Linked DNA regions of Homo sapiens: regions 2, 3, 4 and 5 are each linked to region 1. Evidence: promoter capture Hi-C in human tissues and cell types (Jung and others, 2019). All regions are on one chromosome and are shown on one strand. The core of a region is centred on a gene start or on the middle of the fragment in contact, and the rest is flanking DNA. Distances in the headings are between cores, read along the strand shown.

The links. The method cuts DNA at HindIII sites, captures the fragments that hold promoters and counts their contacts. A contact is called where the count stands out against the background at its distance.
Region 2: a fragment that was not itself captured here is called in contact with the fragment with the promoter of NDN in region 1 in 8 of the 25 tissues and cell types used here (adrenal gland, aorta, dorsolateral prefrontal cortex and 5 more).
Region 3: a fragment that was not itself captured here is called in contact with the fragment with the promoter of NDN in region 1 in 2 of the 25 tissues and cell types used here (IMR-90 fibroblasts and lymphoblastoid cells).
Region 4: a contact is called between a fragment that was not itself captured here and the fragment with the promoter of NDN in region 1, in 2 of the 25 tissues and cell types used here (heart right ventricle and mesendoderm cells).
Region 5: a contact is called between a fragment that was not itself captured here and the fragment with the promoter of NDN in region 1, in 3 of the 25 tissues and cell types used here (H1 embryonic stem cells, dorsolateral prefrontal cortex and liver).

The regions. Positions count from the first base shown.
Region 1 is chr15:23,684,939-23,689,153 of GRCh38, reverse strand. NDN (necdin, MAGE family member) reads left to right here and starts at 1,849. Exons shown (of 1, transcript NM_002487.3): 1 at 1,849-3,754. The coding sequence starts at 1,937. The coding sequence ends at 2,902. The HindIII fragment of the contact is 8,447 bases long and covers 1-3,972 here.
Region 2 is chr15:23,812,996-23,817,210 of GRCh38, reverse strand. No RefSeq gene overlaps it. Among named protein-coding and RNA genes, the nearest start is that of NDN, 130 kb to the right of the region's middle. The HindIII fragment of the contact is 5,926 bases long and covers 1-4,215 here.
Region 3 is chr15:23,575,916-23,580,130 of GRCh38, reverse strand. No RefSeq gene overlaps it. Among named protein-coding and RNA genes, the nearest start is that of MKRN3, 12 kb to the right of the region's middle. The HindIII fragment of the contact is 8,655 bases long and covers 1-4,215 here.
Region 4 is chr15:23,790,933-23,795,147 of GRCh38, reverse strand. No RefSeq gene overlaps it. Among named protein-coding and RNA genes, the nearest start is that of NDN, 110 kb to the right of the region's middle. The HindIII fragment of the contact is 3,366 bases long and covers 592-3,957 here.
Region 5 is chr15:23,610,709-23,614,923 of GRCh38, reverse strand. No RefSeq gene overlaps it. Among named protein-coding and RNA genes, the nearest start is that of MAGEL2, 35 kb to the left of the region's middle. The HindIII fragment of the contact is 8,720 bases long and covers 1-4,215 here.

The sequences.
Region 1 (4,215 bases), core at 600-3,099:
CCCGGCTAATTTTTGTATTTTTAGTAGAGACGGGGTTTTGCCACGTTGGCCAGGCTGGTCTCGACCTCCTGACCTCAGGTGATCTGCCCGCCTCACCTTCCCAAAGTGCTGGGATTACAGGCGTGAGCCACCGCACCTGGCCTAAATATTTTATTTAAATAGTTAGAAAATAATACATACCCAAACAAAATAAAGAATAATATTGATGGAGATTTAAATGCAATAAATGAGGATTATATTTATGAAGCATGGGGGTAATAAGTCTGTTCAAGAGACATTCTTAAAAACAATGAATATAATTAGCATATTTCTGTAAGATGTTCCCAAGAAAATGGTAGATATCTATAAATAGAAGAAGGAGAAAAAGGAGAAGTAGATGGAGAGGAGAAGGAGGAGGTGGAGGAGGGTGAGGAGGAGGAGAAAAGTGTTGAAATAATTCCAACTAAGACTGATATCTAGGAATTACCCTGGTGAAGTGGGAAGCTTAAGAGTCCTGTTGGAGGGACTGGTGTGGTAATGGCTCTGCCAAAAGTGTTATGTGCGTGCAAACCCAAAGAGAGAAAGCACAGAAAACCTTTCAACATCAACCTGCTTGAGGAAAAATAAAGTGGGAAAAGATACATACTCACAGTGAGGACTCTAGACATGTCAAGACAATTTTTAAATATGCTTTTGGCTTCGAGTGGCAATAACTAGATTCAAGACAGCATATTTAAGAAGCTGCTGATGAGAAGAAACCCGGGAAGAGCTGAAGGACCACATCAGCCCAGACCAAGGATGCTGAAGCAGCATTAAGGTCCCTGGTTTCAGATGCTCAGGCAATGACCCTTTTTTTCATGGAGAGCCTGTAGGAGTGACAGTTTTGTCTTTGCCCACTGGGAATCTGTTTTCCATACCTGGAAAACAGGGTTACCTATGTTTCCCCTGCTACCCTTTGGTCATCTCAGAGACACTACCAGATATTACCCATGGGACCTATTTTTTTTTTAAATCTCAGGAAAGACTTGGGTGTGGCTTCCAACGTGGAGGACTCAGTAGCTTCAGAGAGGGTCCTGAGAGAAGGTGAATTGAAGAATGAGGGTGCTGGGCAGAGGGAAAAGACATTATCATACAAGTTTGTGCTAAAAGATATAGCAATCCTTCTGCTATGGACTAAGTATGGAAAAAAATAAAATGGAATCAAAGTTACCCAAAGGAAGTGTAAAACCCAAATTTATGCCCGTTAAAGCATTAATGATGCTCTAAGTCCACTGCCTACTTAAAAAGTTCATAGTTCACATGGGTTGATAGGAAATTACGTTAACGACACACTGCATTTCCCCTTTTCTTATAGCCTATCTGATTTGGTAGGGAGTCGATCATTTTTTATTGGAATTTCTCAGGATTCCAACCTCAGACATCCACTTTACAGTTTACACATTTTCTTGGACAAGCCCGACTGTTCCTCTCACTGGTTCGCATAAAGCTCATGTTTACAAAGCCGCCCAGACCTTTCTCTGGGACTCTCATATTTAACTTAATTCTGGATATACCCAGGTAAGCGTTTCCCAAGAAACTTGACCCCAACATCCCAAAAACTTAAGGTATCTTTCCCTTAAACTGGCCCCTTCTCCAGTACGCATCCATCTCACTTCTCTCCTGCCCTAGATCTTCTCAGCCCAAACAGGAAACCCCGGGATCGCTCTCCCAGCAGGTGAAGCCTCGCCATGGACCCTCCCCGTCGGGGCCCCGCGCTGCCCCGCCCGCCCCCAGCCGCTGGCCAAGGCCGCGGTCGCGCAGGCGCAGTGCCGCGTCCCGCCGCCGCCCCGCCCTGCCCGTCGCTGCGGAAGGCGCCGCGCGCAGCAACGCGCACTTCCTCTCCAGGAATCCGCGGAGGGAGCGCAGGCTCGAAGAGCTCCTGGACGCAGAGGCCCTGCCCTTGCCAGACGGCGCAGACATGTCAGAACAAAGTAAGGATCTGAGCGACCCTAACTTTGCAGCCGAGGCCCCCAACTCCGAGGTGCACAGCAGCCCTGGGGTTTCGGAGGGGGTTCCTCCGTCCGCGACCCTGGCAGAGCCGCAGAGCCCTCCTCTAGGCCCGACGGCCGCTCCGCAGGCCGCGCCGCCTCCCCAGGCCCCGAACGACGAGGGCGACCCGAAGGCCCTGCAGCAGGCTGCGGAGGAGGGCCGCGCCCACCAGGCCCCGAGCGCGGCCCAGCCGGGCCCGGCACCGCCAGCCCCGGCGCAGCTGGTGCAGAAGGCGCACGAGCTCATGTGGTACGTGCTGGTCAAGGACCAGAAGAAGATGATCATCTGGTTTCCAGACATGGTGAAAGATGTCATCGGCAGCTACAAGAAGTGGTGCAGGAGCATCCTCCGGCGCACCAGCCTCATCCTCGCCCGGGTGTTCGGGCTGCACCTGAGGCTAACCAGCCTGCACACCATGGAGTTTGCGCTGGTCAAAGCGCTGGAGCCCGAGGAGCTGGACAGGGTGGCGCTGAGCAACCGCATGCCCATGACAGGCCTCCTGCTCATGATCCTGAGCCTCATCTACGTGAAGGGCCGCGGCGCCAGAGAGAGCGCCGTCTGGAACGTGCTGCGCATCCTGGGGCTGCGGCCCTGGAAGAAGCACTCCACCTTCGGGGACGTGCGGAAGCTCATCACTGAGGAGTTCGTCCAAATGAATTACCTGAAGTACCAGCGCGTCCCATACGTGGAGCCGCCCGAATACGAGTTCTTTTGGGGCTCCCGGGCCAGCCGCGAAATCACCAAGATGCAAATCATGGAGTTCCTGGCCAGGGTCTTTAAGAAAGACCCCCAGGCCTGGCCCTCCCGATACAGAGAAGCTCTGGAGGAGGCCAGAGCTCTGCGGGAGGCTAATCCCACTGCCCACTACCCTCGCAGCAGTGTCTCTGAGGACTAGCAAAGTCTGGAGGCAGATGAATGGTTTCTGACCCTCACCAGGGCTGTGGAAGGGTGGGGGTGGGTCATTATAGTATTCAGGATTTACAGTGCAGTATTCACGTGTAACTTTTAAGTTTTCAGTACAGTGCTTTTATACCTTTAATGCAATGTTGTATTCATTTGGGTACTATTGTGTAGTATTTAGGATGTATGCATGTTTGTTTATATGTAAGCTTGGTTGGTGCTTTCGCTTTTGTGCTACCTTTCTTGGATTTTTGTACCAGAGATGTGCTAAACTGATGAAATACATTGAGAAAGTTTCCATCTTATTCTTTTATATGGGACTGATGATGTGTGTTGGGGTAGACTGCTCCTGCAGAGTTTGGAAGAAGTCACCAGCAAAGCCGGCCTAACCAAGAAAAGTCAAGGCCCTTCATGACCTTGCTGGGCACAGAAAACACCCTCGTGGAGTACACTAATTTGAACTGGACTGGTCTCAGTGTGAGCACTTGGCACACTTTACTAAACACATATACAACCCCACCGTGAGTCAACTTTAAAGTAAACATTAAAGATTCTTGTGATACAATCATTTTTGGAAAAGTGTACTTTATCATTTTAACAAAGCAGTATGGTTGGGAATGAGACAATTCTCTATTTTACAGTGTATACAGATACAACTATTTCCCCTAATAGGGTGGGAAAAATCGCTACTCATGATTACTCCTAAATTTGTGAAGTTTATAGTTCTATTGTCTTTAAATGTAACTCATGTTTATTTCAAAAACATTCACAAATATAGAAAAGTATACAAAACAAAACAGTAAGATTGTCTGTAATCACATCATATGGGAATAAAAAACAAAAATAATTTCCTTCCCTTAAGTTTCTACATTTTATCAAAATTAATAGATGTCTTGTGACATCTATTAATATACATATAACATATTTATAATATAAAAGAGTGAGACATTGTGCTAAGCCCTAACATGTATTTTTCTCCTTTAATCCTTGCAACAGGCCTGTCAGGCAGGCACCTACTGCCTCTGCACCATGGAGGAAACACAGGAATAATGTAGGTAATGAACTTTCCATAGCTCATAAAGGTTAATAAGAGAAGGAGCTAGGACTTGAACTCAGAATGAATCCAGAGCCCACATTTGTCTCCACCTGCCTACGACTGCCCTATACCCCGTGGCTTTTAGGTTATTTATTTTTAAATTTATTTTTACATTTTATGTGGGAGCCTACAATCACATGGGTTCATGGGCCACACATACAAAAAGGCTAGGAATTTTATTTTTCTAATTCTCATGATATTTTGGAGAAAGC
Region 2 (4,215 bases), core at 766-3,265, 130 kb before region 1:
CAAAGTCATGAAAACTAAGTAAAGATTGTAGATTGGAGAATAGCTGATACAGAAGGTAAATGATTCCCATATCTTGGTATGACACAACCTTGAATACTAATTCCTCATGAATGTGGCCAGAAGCTGAGTTGAATACTGAACAAGAGAATACTGCAAAGGTGATGAGATGACACTTAGGTGATCATTTTACATAAGATTGTGATTTTTCTGTCTTGCTGCAAACTCTGTCCCTCAATGGCTTTGATGGAGGCTTCTGGCATGTAGGAGAAGCCAACACCTGGAGGGACTAAATGCAGGCTTTGACCAACAGCCTGCAATGAACTGAGTTCAAACAGCAATAATGTGAGCTAAGAAGTAACTTCTTCACCAGCTGAGATTTTAGTTGAGACCTCAGCCTTGGCTATCATCTATGTCTCAATTCTTGACCCAGAGAACTATGAGACAATACGTTTTGCAGTTTTAGGCCAGTAAATTTGTGGTAATTTACAAGGCAGCAATAAATAAGTAATGCACTTAAGAACTAAACGTCATGTGCTATCCTGGATTGGATCCTGGAACAGACAAATGACATTAGTGGAAATCCTGGTAAAATATAAAGAAAGTCTTTAATTCAGTTAATAGCTATTTTTACCATCAGTGTCTCAGCTTTCATAAATATACTATGGCTATGTCAGATATTAACATTACAGGAAGCTGAAGAGCATATGAAACTCACTGAATCCTTTTTGCAGCTTTCTATAAATCTAACATTATAAAAATGAAAATACTATTTTAAAGGTATTACTGTGATAGAAAAGAACTTGCAAACAAACACCAGAATGAACACAAACACAAACTTGGGCTCCGCGAATGAACAGGCACATAGAAAGAATGCAAAGCTGCTTCCTTTATCTAGTCAGCATTCCAAATCCAGGGGCACCTTCTTCAGGTAGACATCATCAAGTTCCAGGGCTCTCCTACTCTTTTCTTCTTCCCCCTCATGCTCCTCATTACCCAGTTGCCTGTGTGAGTGTCAGTAACCACTTCTTTAAAGATAGATGCCTGTGCCTCACAGAAAGACCCATTTCAGACAACGTCTAGTCCTGTATCTGCGGAATCCCACCAAAGACTCTTTGGAAGACATGACTCTGGACAGTAGAAGTGAATATGGAGAAACGGGAGTAATAGGGAAAATAAATCATATTTAGGCACTTAAGATATTTTTTTTCTTGTTTGGTTACAGATTTTCCTTCCTTAAGATTTAAAAACACATCTGTACCTTCAAGCCTTTGAAAAATCCTGTGATAATTAAGCTCTTTTCATTTTAGAGACTCCATGAGGAATTATTTGGGACCACGTATTCTGTTAACAGCCACATCATGAAATTACATTAACCAGCACCAAGCCCTAAAACCACAAAAAAGTATAGTCTTGGTAGCAGGTGGGCTGTCTTGGTGTAAAAAAAGAGAAGTATTTGCAATCATGTTCATTTAAGCCAGTCCCTGCTTACTCATATCTGAAAATGAAGCTTTAGACACAAGGTTTTTATCAGGTTTAGGAAAGTGAGTGATTCAGATTGTGTTGTGCACAGGTAAAGAAATCCTGGTGAAATAAACAAAAGAGCAACATGGTACAACATATTCTCAAACCTCCATGCGCGGGTCTAAGAGATGGACATAGGATAAATGGTGACTCTGCATATGTGCTAGCTAAGCAATCTCACAGCAAGCAGGGCTGCCCACCCACTCACCACACAGCTCCTTGTTCACAGACCACAGCACTCTTCTGGGGAGCACCGGGCTGTTTCTGGCAACCATGCCTACAAAGCCTACAAAGTCGGGGGACTGCATGGCCACAATCCCATGGACATCTACAAAGCCAAGACTCTTGCTTTTATGATCTGTAATCATAGGTTATATTCTCCATACTAGATCTATAGCTTCAGTGGGAAAATGAGCTCCTGTAGTGTTTAGACCTACAGTGAGAGATGCACCTGACCTGGACCAGAGTTCTCATTTCTGAGATCAGGATAGCAGTTATTTAGTCGCTGTTATTGTGGGCATTTCTAATTCAAGAAACCTCACTCCTCCAAGCTCATATTTCACTCCTTGAGACAGGCAGGCACACTTAAATGTTTCGTCTTAAAACATGGAAGGTTACTCAGATTATTTAATTTTAACTGTACTTTCTATAATGCCAAATAGCTTGTCAAATCCCCTTTTCCTATTTATTCCAATGCATACACTAAAATCCATAATAATGTACACTGTGATTATCCCCTGACACACTTTTCACCAAAAAGAGGCATAGCAAAATGCCATAAACAGGCTGCAAGTAGAACTGGACAAGAAAAGACCCATCTCCATTTAGCAAATGAGGGTCAATGAGCTCTGGTCAGTGAGTGCTCAGGATGAAGACAGAGCAGGTGACAGACATAAGACTGTGCTAACATTGATGTCACAGGACACAGTGTTGGGCACCAAGTCCCCAGACATTACTCTCTGATAGCCTGGAATATATGATTTCCCACAACCGACTGCTGTACCTCTGACCTGATTTTACAGATGCTGGCCTGACCACCCAAATTCTAAGAAATCTGTCATCGCAAACATCCCAAAGTCTTACACCATATCATGTAGTAAGGCCCCACTACCCTGTCTGCCCACGGTAGCCTGAATAGAGAATGGTTCCCAGTGGATTCATGGGTCATATATTTGAGATCAGGACACACTGTAAAGTTAATTGAGCCTTCCTGAAGCCTGCAACTCTAGGTGCAATTTCAGTCAACATCCTAAATTACGAACGATATGAATTTCTTCTTAAGTATATTCATCAGGGAACAGCTAAGCCCGTTCCAATCTCCAAGTGCCCAGAAGTAGAGTTTGTCAGTGTTGCAAGTGGGCAGAGCAAAGCATTCTATGGAGACCAAATGCAACTACTTTTGCAATAACTGATCATAATATGATTTGTATGATAAATATCCAAATGATTAAGGGTGAAAGAACAATAGGAAAATATAACCAAGTTTTATGGATTTAAGAATTGATTTTGGCATGCAGCTTATAGGGAACATTGATCATATTTGTAAGATTAGAGCAGAAATTTGCAAAATATAACTTTCTGAAAGTTTTTAGAAAGCTATCACCCCTGTGCATACTTTCAAGTAACTTTTTGCCATTTCTATCTCCCTATTCCATGGACTTCTTGAATCACAGTTTATAAAAGCAACTCTCCTCAGGTAAATTATGATATTTGGTAGCCCACTAATAATTTTACTGTCTCTAATAGCTAGTCAGAAACAATATTTAAGCATGTTTCCTCAATGATAGAGCAGAATACAGCAAATGAGCTGCAATGACTATACACTGAGAATGAGCAATTGCTGAGAAAGTAGTGCATTCCATTGATGTTACTGCATACATCCCACCTATCTCAAACACAGATTCATGTGAAAATTAACAGTGTCAAACACTACTGGTGGGAAGACAGTTGTAATGTGATTGTCTTTGCATGCACATACACAAACATGGTCTGAAAAGCTTCTATGAATACCTTTGGGTGAGATAACGAAAAACAAAACCTGCAGAGTCTGTCAGTAGATTGGAAAAATACATTCACAAAAGAGTAGCACAGGACTTGCTCAAGAAATGTGGCATTGCCAAATCTTCTAATTAGCATAGATGATGAAACTGTGGGGAAAGTTACAGACAAGATGAGTTGAAAAGTGATTCAGAAGAGTTTAATCCGAAAGGTATAAATTTTGGAAAATACTTTGGTAATGTATTTTCTTATATTTTCCATCTCATGTAATCATAGAAGTGATTTATGACAAATGCTCACATTAATATAAGTTGCACAAAGTTTCTGTGTTATTATAAGATAAAAATTCTAAGTGATAGGAAATATTTGTGTCATAGTTTGTCCTTTTATTCTGTCACGGTAACAGAATATAGTGATGCATCTAATAATTGATGCATATAATACATCTTGCAATTACTTAGATAATGCTGTCAATATCAGCACTAACTTAGTGGTTAACACAGACCTGGTACCAGTCTACATGCTCTATGTATTATTATTTCATTAAATCTTCACAGCAACTCAAGAGGTAGCCACTATTATCTCTCCCATGGTCTAGCTCTGAATCTAAGCAGAAAGCCCTGCAGTAAAGGAATAGAATAATCTGAGCTTGACTCAATCTGTCTCCATTTCCTTGCTCACATCAACTACATTAGA
Region 3 (4,215 bases), core at 507-3,006, 110 kb after region 1:
TTGCAATTATAGATGTGAGCCACTGCACCTGTTATAATGCAGGGTGAGATTAACAAACTTGTACCTGAAAGATTTTGTATGTATAGAATAAACCTGCAAGTCACATTTTTAAAAAATAGAATGGCTTGGTCAATGTGTATGCATATGTGAATTCATGATTTGATTCTCATCGAATGTTCCTCCATGGAAATTGTACCAATTATACTCCTGCAAGCAAAGTATGCCTATTCTCCCAACAGAGTGTGTTTTTAAACATCTGGGTTTTTGACAAATTGAGAGGAAACTGAAACTTCATCAATTTTAATAAGTATTATTAGTGATGCTTGACAACTTTTCCCCTCCTTCAAACTATATGCATTTTGTTTATGTGCAAGAGGTATACTTTTTGTTAAGGTTTTTGTTGATTAAGAAGCCTTTATGTATTATAGAAATAAATTCTCAACCCATTTTATGACTTTTTTATAGTTTGATACTTTTTTAGGGGTGGGGAAGTTGCTCATGTCAAATTCATTAGCTCATTTTAAACTGGTTACATTTGTAAGGCAGAGCAATTGGTGTGAGTCCCGCCCTGCAGTCAGATGGGCGAGTCTATTAACTGTGTGCCATGGACATGTCTACGAGCCTCCCTCAGCTTCAGTGCTCTCAGCTGCTACAAGGGGTTAATAGTGACTACCTCTTGGGATGGTTGGAAGGATTAAATGGGATAAACCATCTCAGAACAGCGCCTGGCACACAGTAGACCCTATGCAGTTATTGCTACAATTATGGTCAAACTTTTAAGAGTTTTATAGAATATGTCATTGTAAGACATTCTTGACTCCAAGACTTTAAAATAAAAAGAAAATCCTTTCCTGGTTTTGTATTTGTCTGAAATTTTGATGTAAGTGGAATTTATACTGCTGTTAAAATATGGTATTTGGAGCCCATGACTCCTGAATTCACCCGACAACCTTTATTAAATAATCCTGTTATTTTTATCTTTATCATCAACTCAATACATATGTCCATTTATGAACCTTTTTAGCATATATTTTTTATCAATTCAAGTCCCACTATCTGCTTTTCATATTGCTGGCAATATGACACTGTTTGAAGACCTGGTAAAGTTCATTGAATGGATGCTTTTCAATTCTAAAATATTCTGGTCCTGTTGGCTTCCTGCCCCCCCCAACAGATCAACTTTCACAATAGTTTTTTGTTTAGTTATAAAGAACTAGTTTGTACTTGTGTTGTTATGAGATACACACACACAAACACAAAACACACACACACGTTTTCATTTACGGTTCTTGGCTCATAACTCCCATAGCCCTTGTTACAGTCTTTTTAAAAAAATACTGCGTGTGTTAGGCTTCAGGAGCAGGACTTAGGAAAGAGAATCTCTCTGACCTTCTCCTGACCTCTTTTCACCCACCTCAAGGCAGGAGGATTCCAATCTCCCCCAACCTTTCTGATGTGGATCATAAGATCCTCATCTGATAAAGGGTCATACCCCCCATACCTTGGGGGAAGGAATGCTGATGTCATGAAGCTTCCATAAAAACCCCAGAGCACTGGGCTCAAAGGCTTCTGGATAGCTGAACACCGGGAGGTTCCTGGAGGGTGGCACTCCAGGAGGGCATGGGAGCTCCACCCCATTCCCCCATAGCTTCCTCAAATGCATCTCTTCATCTGCATCCTTTGTAATATCCTTTATAATAAATCAGTAAACATAAGTGTTTCACTGAGTTCTGTGAGCTGCTCCAGCAAATTAATCAAATCCAAAGAGTGGGTCGTGGGAATGCCAACTTGAAGCCCACTGGTCAGAACTTCCAGAGGCCTGGACTTTGTGACTGGTGTCTAGGGAGTGGGGGGAGTCTTGAGGCCGGCCCCTCACCTGCAGGATCTGACACTATCTCCAGGTAGATAGCCTTGGAATTAAATTGGAGGATGCCCAGCTGGTGTCTGCTGCTTGGTGTGTGTGAAATGCCCCCACATTTAGCCACTGACATTTTCTGCATTGATGATTGTTGTGATTGAGAGCACAGGAAGGACACAGTTTAAGACTTTTCCCTAAGCAGTACTTTATTAGAAATTTTGTAAATTCATTAAAAAATTGACACATTGGTGATGTTAAAGTTCCCTATCAAATTATATAGTATATATTATCATTTGTTTAAGTATTTATGGTTTCCTGAAGGCACTTAACACATTTTTAAATTTATTCCCAGTTTTTATTTATTCCTAAATTTAAAGTACATGGTTCTTGTGTACTTTAAATTATTGTTGTGATAACAAAAATAGGCATTTCATTACATTTTCTATATTATACGAAACTTATCCACATTTATTATTTTTCTCCTAGAATTTTACTGATTTTTATTTTTTAAAGTTTTACAGAAATTTTCAGATTTTCAACATACAACATCTCAGAGAGAGGAATTTAAATCCTTCTTTGAAGGATGTATCATTTATATGTCTCATTTTTTGGCCTTGTATACAATTGCATTGATTGATACATCAAAATAATAACTAACAGTGAAGAAAGGAGAGAAAAATCTAATTGTTTTTGCCTGATCAAAAGAGATGATTATATGATTACCTTTTTTGGCTAATTAAATAAATACAATGCTGAAATATTTTTATTCTAATATTTTCTTAAAATTTTGCATCATTATTCATAAACTTGATCATTAGTTTGCATGTATTTGTGAATGTGTGTTTGTGTGTGTTCACTACCTTAGTTACACTCTGATATAAAATTACGTGTCATTCATAATTAAACAAGTCAGTGACCCTTCCTTCCATTTTAAACTTCTGGATTGTGTTACATAGCACTTTAATGATTTGTTCTTTAAAGGTTTTATGACAATCCCTATTAAAATTGTGATAACCATTTTATTAATTTTATGTTAACTAGTAGGTTACATTGTCATGTTTTGTAGCCAATGTTTGATAAATTATAAATGCCTGGAAAATCATCAATTTCAGTTTTGCAATTAATCTTCATCTAGTTGAGTGATGATTTCTTATGTTTGTTTAATAGAATGTTGTGAATTCCTCCTATTGAATGTGTGTATGTGATTTTGTTTTTATTTTTTCTCATTTTCCTCATTAATTTAGTTAGTGGTTTATCTATTTTATTAATTGTTTTCAAAGTCTCAGCCTTTATATTTAATATTTTAATCTTCCTATATTTTTTATTTCTTTTCATTAGTTATGTGTTTTTGTGTGTTCATTTCTCAAAAATTTAGATTTGGGTAATATACACATATAAATATATTTATGCTCTAAATAGCTGTATTATATACACTAAAGCAAATTGATCACAAATTTGGGAGATATATGAAGTTGCTTATATGATTATTTCCTTTGATATATTAAGAAAAAATATTTTTTCATATTGTACCATCTTTGTTTTCCTGGAATATAATCCACTACTTCCTGAAGTCTTATTTTTTAACAGTGCTATTCTTTCACTTTCTAATATTTCATTTCATATTTTTTGCATCAATATTTATAAATGAGATAGATCTCTAGTTATTTTTGTATTATACTATGTTGGTACTATGGTTTGAATGTGTCCCCGCAAGAGGATGTGTTGGAAACTTAATCCCCAATATAACAGTGTTGGAAGGTAAGGCCTAATGGGAAATGTTGAGGTAATGAGAGCTCTACCCTCATGAATGGATTAATACCAATTATAAAAGGGCTTGAAGTTTTGAGTTCAGGCTATTGCTCTCTTCACTCTCATTGCCCTTTTGCCACAGGATGGTGCAACAAGAAGGCCTTCACCAGATATTGGCCCCTCAATCTTAGATTTCCCAGCCTCCATAACAATAAGCCAATAAACTTCTGTTCACTGTAAACTACCCAGTCTCAGGCACAGAGGGGCCCCAGTTTATGATGGTTCAACTTATGATTACTCAACTTTACGATGGGTGTATCAGGACATAACCCCAATGTAAATCAATGAGCATCTGGACTTAACAATGGTTTGACTTATGATTTTTTTGTCTTTATAATGGGTTTATAGGGACATTAAATGCATTTTCAACTATGATATTTTCTACTTATGATGAGTTTATTGGGACACAGCCCCATCATAAGTCAAGGAGCATGTGTATTCTGTTACAGCAGCACAAAATGAACTAGAACTGGCAATATTTTGATACCATGTTATATACCATTCATAAGTTATATAGGTGCACCTTTATTTTATAAAATAGTGCTTCT
Region 4 (4,215 bases), core at 1,025-3,524, 110 kb before region 1:
TTAGCCAATTATTTGAGAAGCCTGTTTTTTTGTTTGTTTGTGTGTTTGTTTGTTTGTTTGTTGACGAAATTTCGCTCCTGTTGCCCAGGCTGGAGTGCAATGGCATGATCTCGGCTCACTGCAACTCCCGCCTCCTGGGTTCAAGCAAGTCTCCTGCTTCAGCCTCCCAACCGTCTCCTTTTATTGGAGGATATTATTTAGCTTCAGCCTCCCAACCGTCTCCTTTTATTGGAGGATATTATTTAGAAGCCAAGATCTTGGTGCTGTATGTGCTCAGGGCAGCTGGGGTGTTGCTGCCTCCATGTCTCCTCAACGGATGGAGTCAGAACACACAACATATCTTCACTCTTCACTCAGTCTTATGAGGGTTCCACCAGGCCCACAGAACTCTTAGCATCCCTTCATGAAACTCCATCCACTTGGTTATTTCATATCTTAAACCCGAGACCAACAGAGTTTAATTTCCCCCTCACACCTTAACCAGATACAGTGGCACCTCAAAACTAAATCTTTGTGGTTGCATATTGATAGGCTAAAAAGTTACTGGAATTGGGCAACTTACATGGAATCAAATAAGAGAGTCTGCATTGTGGAAAAAACAAACAAACAAAACAAAACAAACAAAAATACACATGATTGCTGCCCCAAAAGAGATGAAAGGTCAGGCAAGTCCTCCAGCTTTTCCAGCCCCCTGCCCTTCTCCCCACATCTGCTGAGAGCTGTGGAAACAGCATAGCTACAATGAAGACCCACTACAGGACACATAGAGTACAGAGCAGAGGCTCCAGGAAAACCTGCTGGCCCATCTTAAGCCCAGAGGAGTTTCCTGATCACCCCTATTACTCTCAGGAAAAAAAAAATGTGAAAAATTAGGGATGCCAATCCCAAATGTGTGTAGACAGGAAGTGTTGAACCCTTTAATGTTCCTGGTGCACAGCATGTCCTCGCCATCCCATGTTTGCTGGTCAATCCCCATGGTTTGTGAGACTTGAAGGCCAGAAGGCAGGAATGCTCCTAACAGAGAACACAGGGCATGAGCTGGGATTTATTAAGCAATCCTGTTTTCTTTACTTGGTTGTCCTGAAGTGCAAGTATTAGCCCTTTAGGCTGCCCCTCTGAAACTGCTTCTTCAGGTCACAGCTCACATCCTGGAATATTAGAGATTTTGTTCACTTTATACTTATGTCCGTACATCCCCACCCAAAGTCCTGGACCAAGGAGCTGTATGTCGAGAGAGCTATGGATAGGTATATCAACCTCAAAAAGCATATGCACAGCAGAAAGCTCCCCAGTAATCATGAGCTTTGGGTGTGCATAGGGAGAGAAGGGCCAACCTAGGTGGGGAGAAAAATAGACAAACAACCTCCCTCTCCACTCCTGTACAGTGATATGTGAGAAAAGCATGGGCTGAAATGACGAAGCTGATGGATTGAGGAAGAATCTTTGATGGATGATCTCTCCTGGCAGCATGGGCTGCCACCTGCCTTGTCCCAGCATGTGCCCTGTCCTGGTTAGACATCGCTACCTCTGTCCCCTGAGGGCTCAACCTGCTTAGATTTTCACTGGACACTACATCTCTCCAGGTATCTAGTTTCCAACTGTGGGTCTAACCCAATCACATCAGGCAGCCACGGCTTCCCCTCTGGCTCCTTGGCCTGGGGTGAGGAGAGCAGCTGGTGAGCGCCTGGCTCAGGTTTCTGAGATCAGGAAGGCCATTCCTTAGGTGCCGCTATTCTGGCCATTTGGTCAACAGGAGCCCCTCTGGCTCTCTGAGCTCTTACTTCGCCCCTGGTCAACTTTCACAGGATTTTCCATTCCTTGTCTTAAATAGATCATGGGCAGCTGTTCTTGTCATTTTATTCTACATCTTGCTTAACCCCTTGCCAGGCCTCATTCTCATTGTGACTTTAGATTCTATGAGAAACTGCAGAACATGGCCGATAGGAACACAGAGTCTGCCTCATTGACACCCCGGTGCAAATCCTGATTCTGCCTCTCAGGAGAGTGACTTTACGTAAATCATTTAACCCCTCTGTGCCACTGTCTCATCTGCAGCAGGAACATAATATTACTGATATCATGGGGTTCTAACGATGTTTAAATGAGTTAATTGTACAAAAGCCTCAGAACAGCACCTTGCAGCTCAGAAGTGCCATGGAAGTGTTGGCACCTACAAAGTACTGTTAATGCTCACACGTCTTTCCAAAATCTCAGCACTGCCCAGGTACAAGACAGGTAGGAGGTCTGATATTGTAGGTTAATGTTTTCAGGCCCAGTAGATGCTAAACACAGAATGCTAAAGACCAGAAGATGCCATTCAAAAAGGCAAGAAAGTTTTCACAGGTCTGCAAATATGAGGGCAAGTGCGTATTTTGAAGGTCCCGATTTTTCTGTAAAATCTCGCTAATAATCAAGAGAAGCTACAGGAAGCTTACATCTAGTACCTTAAATCACGTATTGTTAGAATGTGATTGATATTTCCATCACTCAACAACCCCAAAGTGAGCTCTAATTCCCAGCTCCCAAGAACAACTTTGGTCACAAAGAGCATGCTCAGAAAGAGAAGAGTGTGGGCCGGAAGAGATGGAGATGAAGATATCTGGAAATGAAGCTGACGTGGATCACTTTCAGCTTCTTATTCACGGTTCCATAATAACTTCACCTCCAGAACTCCATCTGGTAATGGGCTAAACAGGAGTCACAGAGGCAGTGGAGAATGCTGTGCTGAGCTGTGAACGTTTTTCTGTTCCCAATGAGACCCCTTGCACCTACTGGCTTCCTCTCCACCCAACATCCTACACTGCTGCTTGTAGTTACTTGACTCTCATATTTACTCTAAAGACACAAACAAATGAGCCAAATAAGAGATGAAAAACTATAAGCAGATCCTCAATGGCATTTCCTGTATTAAAATATTACATATTTTGGCCCCAATATTTATTAAAGGTACTATCATTTTTGCCTCAAAGTATCTTTCACAAAAAAATACTTTTAATGGAAAAACATTAACAAATAAGTTGTCCTTCTTTATTATCATTTTGACTGTATTACCAAATAAGGTTTTCCAATTTTATTCCATGGCAGTACAGAATATATATTCAGCTAAAGTAGGATAAGATTTTTTTAAAAAAAAAAAATCCACGTTGTGTGTTGTGAAAGTCCAAAGAGCAAATATCAAAAATTTAATTGCATATAACACTTGACCCTAGATATGTAATTTAATCCCCTTTCTTTTTCCCATTTAGTAATGAAAGTTTCAAACGAAGTTTAAAGAATCGTGTAGCTACCACCTAGATTCCACAGTTGACATTTTATTATACGTTTTCTACCAAGTATTTATCCCCATATCCATCCCTCCATTCAACTCATCCTATTCTTTGATACATTTTGAAGAAAATTGGAGATAGGCATACACATCACCCTTACATGTATCATTAATGAGATCATAATATTTGTTTACTTTTAAGATAACTTTCACCTATCATGAAATGTGCAACTATTAAGTGATGAGTTTTGACACATGGATGCAACCGTGGAACTCAAAACCCTTCAAAATATGAAAAATTCCCATCAACTCAGAAAATACTCTCAAACTCTTCCCATTTAATTCACAGCAACCACTGTTCTGATTTTTTCCTAACAATAGATTAGTTTTGCCTGTTCTCAAAACTCATATAAATGTAATTTAATTGTATGTACTATTTTGTGTTAGATTACTACTCAGAATGTTTTTGAAGCTTTTTCATATTGTTGTATGTATCAGTAGTTCCTTTTTGTTGCTGAGTAGTATTCCATTGTATACAAAAATCTGGGCACGTTGGCTCTTTCCAGGTGTTTGTAATAAGAAGCATGAATGGAAAAACGAGGCTCGTCTGCAGATTCACAGACCTGAACTCAAAAAGGGGAATGGAGTTTTGTCACCAAAATTCCTCATCATGGCATCTCTCACTTTGGTGATTTTGACATATTGGGTGATGAATAAATCTTGTGTAATTTAGACAGAGAGAAGTCAGTGTGTCTGAAACTGGGACTGTTTGTGGAAATGAGGTGAGGGCCTTTTTTCTCATATTTTGTTCCTGATACTAAAGCTGGTGATCCCCGCCAAGGAATGGAATACGTGTCAAGCGTCCTGTTGAAGAAATCATGAAGTTATTCTTCTGTTGTATTTTGCAAAAGCTTTCTTGCTTTACCATTAATATTTAGATCTGAATGACT
Region 5 (4,215 bases), core at 509-3,008, 74 kb after region 1:
AAGAAATACCAGCACAAGCACTATTTACAATAGCAAAGAATTGGAACCAACCTAAATGCCCATGAATGATAGACTGGATAAAGAAAATGTGGCACATATACCACATATACACTATGGAATACTATGCAGCCATAAAAAAGAATTTCACCGAGCACAGTGGCTCACGCCTGTAATCCCAGCACTTTGGGAGGCTGAGGTGGGTGGATCACGAGGTCAGGAGTTCCAGACCAGCCTGGTCAATATGGTGAAACCCCGTCTTTACTAAAAATACAAAAATTAGCTGGGTGTGGTGGTCTGTGCCTGTAGTCCCAGCTACTCAGTAGGCTGAGGCAAAAGAATCGCCTGAACCCAGGAGGCGGACGTCGCAGTGAGCCGAGATCATGCCACTATACTCCAGCCTGGGCAACAGAGCAAGACTCTGTCTCAAAAAAAAAAAAAAAAAAAAGAATAAGTTTATATCCTTTGCAGGGACGCGGAAACCATCATTCTCAGCAAACTAACACAGGAACAGAAAACCAAACACCGCATGTTCTCACTCATAAGTGGGAGTTGAACAGTAAGAACACATGGACACAGGGAAGGGAACATCACACACCAGGGCCTGTCGGGGGGTGGGGGACAAGGGGAGGGAGAGCATTAGGACAAATACCTAATGCATGCAGGGCTTAAAACCTAGATAACGGGTTGATAGGTGCAACAAACCACCATGGCACAGGTATACCTAGGTAACAAACCTGCACGCTATGTACATGTACCCCAGAACTTAAAGTAAAAATTAAAAAAAGAAATTCCAGCACAGTTTTATGTTCATGAGAATATTTTAATTAAGTGTGATACATTAATAATATATAGAGAGAGGGGAGAATTACTGAAGGCTACCACTGGATATGCAAGAAGGGTTGGGAACTAATAGACCAGTGCAAGGAATGGCATTAAATACAAATTTTTACAGTGTGTCTGTGTCCTCAACCTGTGGTGTGGGTATCACTGAAGTCTGTGAACCCTTCCCTCTAATCAATCTGCTGATATTTAGGTATAAGTAATGCTTTATAAAGTTCCTGAAAGTTATTTATTTTGCTCTATGGGATCTCCTTTAGCTCTTGTCTTAATCCATTCAGGCTGCTATAACAGAATACCATAGACTGGGTGGCTTATAAGCAACAGACATTTAGTTCTCATAGATTTGTAGGCTGGGAAATCCAGGGTCAAGGTGCTGGCAGATTTGGTGTCTGCTGAGGGCCTGCTTCCTGGTTCACCAATGGCTGTTTTTACGCTGTGTCCTCACATGGAGGAAAGGGTGAAAGAGCTCTCCAAGGTTCCTTTTATAAGGGCACTAATCCCATTAATGAGGCTCCACCCTCATGATCTAATCACCAGCAAAAAGCCCCTCACCTTCTAGTACCATCACCTTGGGGTTAGGTTTCAACAAATCAATTTTGGGAAAACACAAAGATTCTGACCATAGCAGTTCTCGTTTGGCCTATTTGTGTGTATGTACATATATTTACTTCCAGCCTCCATCTGTTTCCTGTAAAGTTTCCATTCCATTATGAGATGTCAGTTATAAGAATCATCCTCGCTCATCATCGTGGTGGCATCATTTCCACCATGATCACCTTTCACCCTCTCTCTGTGCACCAGCTGTCTCACCTTACGGTGGTTCCCCAAAAACACCATGCGTCCTTCAGTCACAGACACTTTTCACATGCTGCTGTTATCCTGGCTAATGCCTTCATAGCCTTGAGATCTGAAGTGATCTGCTCAGGGAAGCTTTCCTCATCTGTCTGGTGAAAATAAGTCACCCTGTGTTCACTTTTTATTGTTCTTGTTGTTGTAAAGATTTATTTTTATTGTTCAACAGTAAATTGACAAATTATATATATTTATGGAATACAAAGGAATGTTATGATGCTTAAATACAATGTGAAATAATTAAATGAAACTTAATAACGTGTGTATCAGCCCACATACCCGTTTTTTGTGGTGAGAACATTTGAAATTGACTCTCAACGGTTTTGAAGTGTACTCTACATTTTCATTGGCTGTATTCACCATGCTGTGCAATACATTCCAAAGAAAATAAAACTTACTTGTCCAATCTAAATGAGGCTTGATACCCTTTGACCGTTATCTCCCTACTAACTCTATCCCTTCATCCTCTGGTAACCACCATTCTTCTCTCTACTTCTTTGATTGTTTTATATTCCATATATGAGTGAGGTAACACAGTATTTGTCTTTCTTCTTGGCTTATTTCATTTAGTATAATGTTCTCCAATTCCGTCTATGTTGTCACAAATGACAGAATTTCTTTCTTAAGGTTTAATAATGTTCTATTGGGTATATATACCACGTTTTCTTTTTTCCCCACATTTTCTTTATTCATTCATCTGATGATGGACCCTTAGGTTGATTTCATAACTTGGCTTTGGGAAATAGTGCTGCAACAAACATGGAAGTGCACATACCTCTTTAACACACTGATTTTAAATTGTGGGGGTATATATCCAGAAGTGAGATTGCCGGATCATATGATAATTCTATTTTTAGTTTATTTTTCCATAATGGCTGTTCTAACTTTCATTCCCACCAGCAGTGCATACAGGTTCCCTTTCCTCGACACCCTCCCCAACACGAATTGTTCATTGTTTTGACAATAACCATTTTAACACGTGTGAGGTGATATTTCATTGCAGATTTTATTTGCATTTCTGATGATTAGTGGTGTCAAACACTTCTTCATATATCTGTTGATCATTTTTATGTCTTCTCTTGAGAAATGTCTATTTAAGTAATTTCTCTATTTTTAATAGGGTTATTTGTTTGTTTTTCTGTAGAGCTGAGTTCCTTATATATTTTGGATATTAACCCCTTATCAGATGTATGGCTTTCAAGTATTTTCTCCCAAACAATAGGTAGTTTTTTTACTCTATTAATTGTTTCCTTTGTTTTGCAAAATCTTTTTATTTTGATGTAATGACATTTGTCTATTTTTGCTTTTGTTGCCTGTGATTTTGGGGTCAAATCCAAAAACTCATTGCCCAGACCAATGTTGTGTAGCTTTTCCCTTATGTTTTCTCTTAGTAGTTTTAGAATTTCAGGTCTTATGCTTAAGTATTTAATCCAATTTGAGTTTATTTTTGTACAGGGTGTGAGATAAGGATCCAACATTCTTATGAATGTGAATATGCACTTTTCCCAACACCACTTATTGAAGAGACTGTCCCTTTTCCAATATGTATACTTGGCACCTTTGTTAAAAATTTATTGACTACATATGCATGTATTCTTTTCTGGGTTTTATCTTCTATTCTATTGGTTGATGAGTCTATTTTCTTTTTCTTTTCTTTCTTTCTTTTTTTGAGATAGAGTCTTGCTCTGTCACCCAGGCGGGAGTGCAGTGGTGTAATCTAGGCTCACTGCAGCCTCTGCCTCCCGGGTTCAAGCAATTCTCCTGCCTCAGTTGCCTGAGTAGCTGGGATTACCGGCATGTGCCACCATGCCTGGCTAATTTTTGTATTTTTTGTAGAGACGGGCTTTCACCATGTTGGTCAGGCTGGTCTCAAACTCCTAACCTCATGATCTTCCTGCCTCAGACTCCCAACGTGCTGGGATTACAGGCGTGAGCCACTGCACCCAGCCAACGAGTCTATTTTCATGCCAGTATCACACTGTTTTAATTACTATTGCTTTGTAGTGTAGTTTTAAATCATGCATGTGGTTGGTGCCTCCAGCTTTCATCTTCTTACTCATGATTCCTTTGGCTATTCAGAGTTTGTTGTGGTTCCACATTAATTTTATATTTTTTTCTGTTACTATGAATAATTACATTACAATTTTGTTAGAAATTGCTTTGAGTCTATAAGTCATTTGGGGTAGTATGGACATTTTAGCAACATTATTCTTCCAATCTATGAACACAGAATATCTTCCAATTTATTTGTGTCTTCTATAATTTTTGTTATTAACATTTTTCAGTGTACAGGTCTTTCACCTTCTTGGTTAAACTTATTTCTAAATATTTTATTTTTTGAAGCTGTTGTAAGTAAGATTGTTCTCTTGTTTCTTTTTAGAATGTTTGTTGTTACTATGTGGAAATACTGAGCTCCTTAGTCTCCTCTGCCACCAGATCTAGCTTCAGAATGTAGACAATGTCTTGAGGGAGAAATTAGCTGCAACAATTCATTTCCAACTTTGTCTTTCTAAATCCATGCAT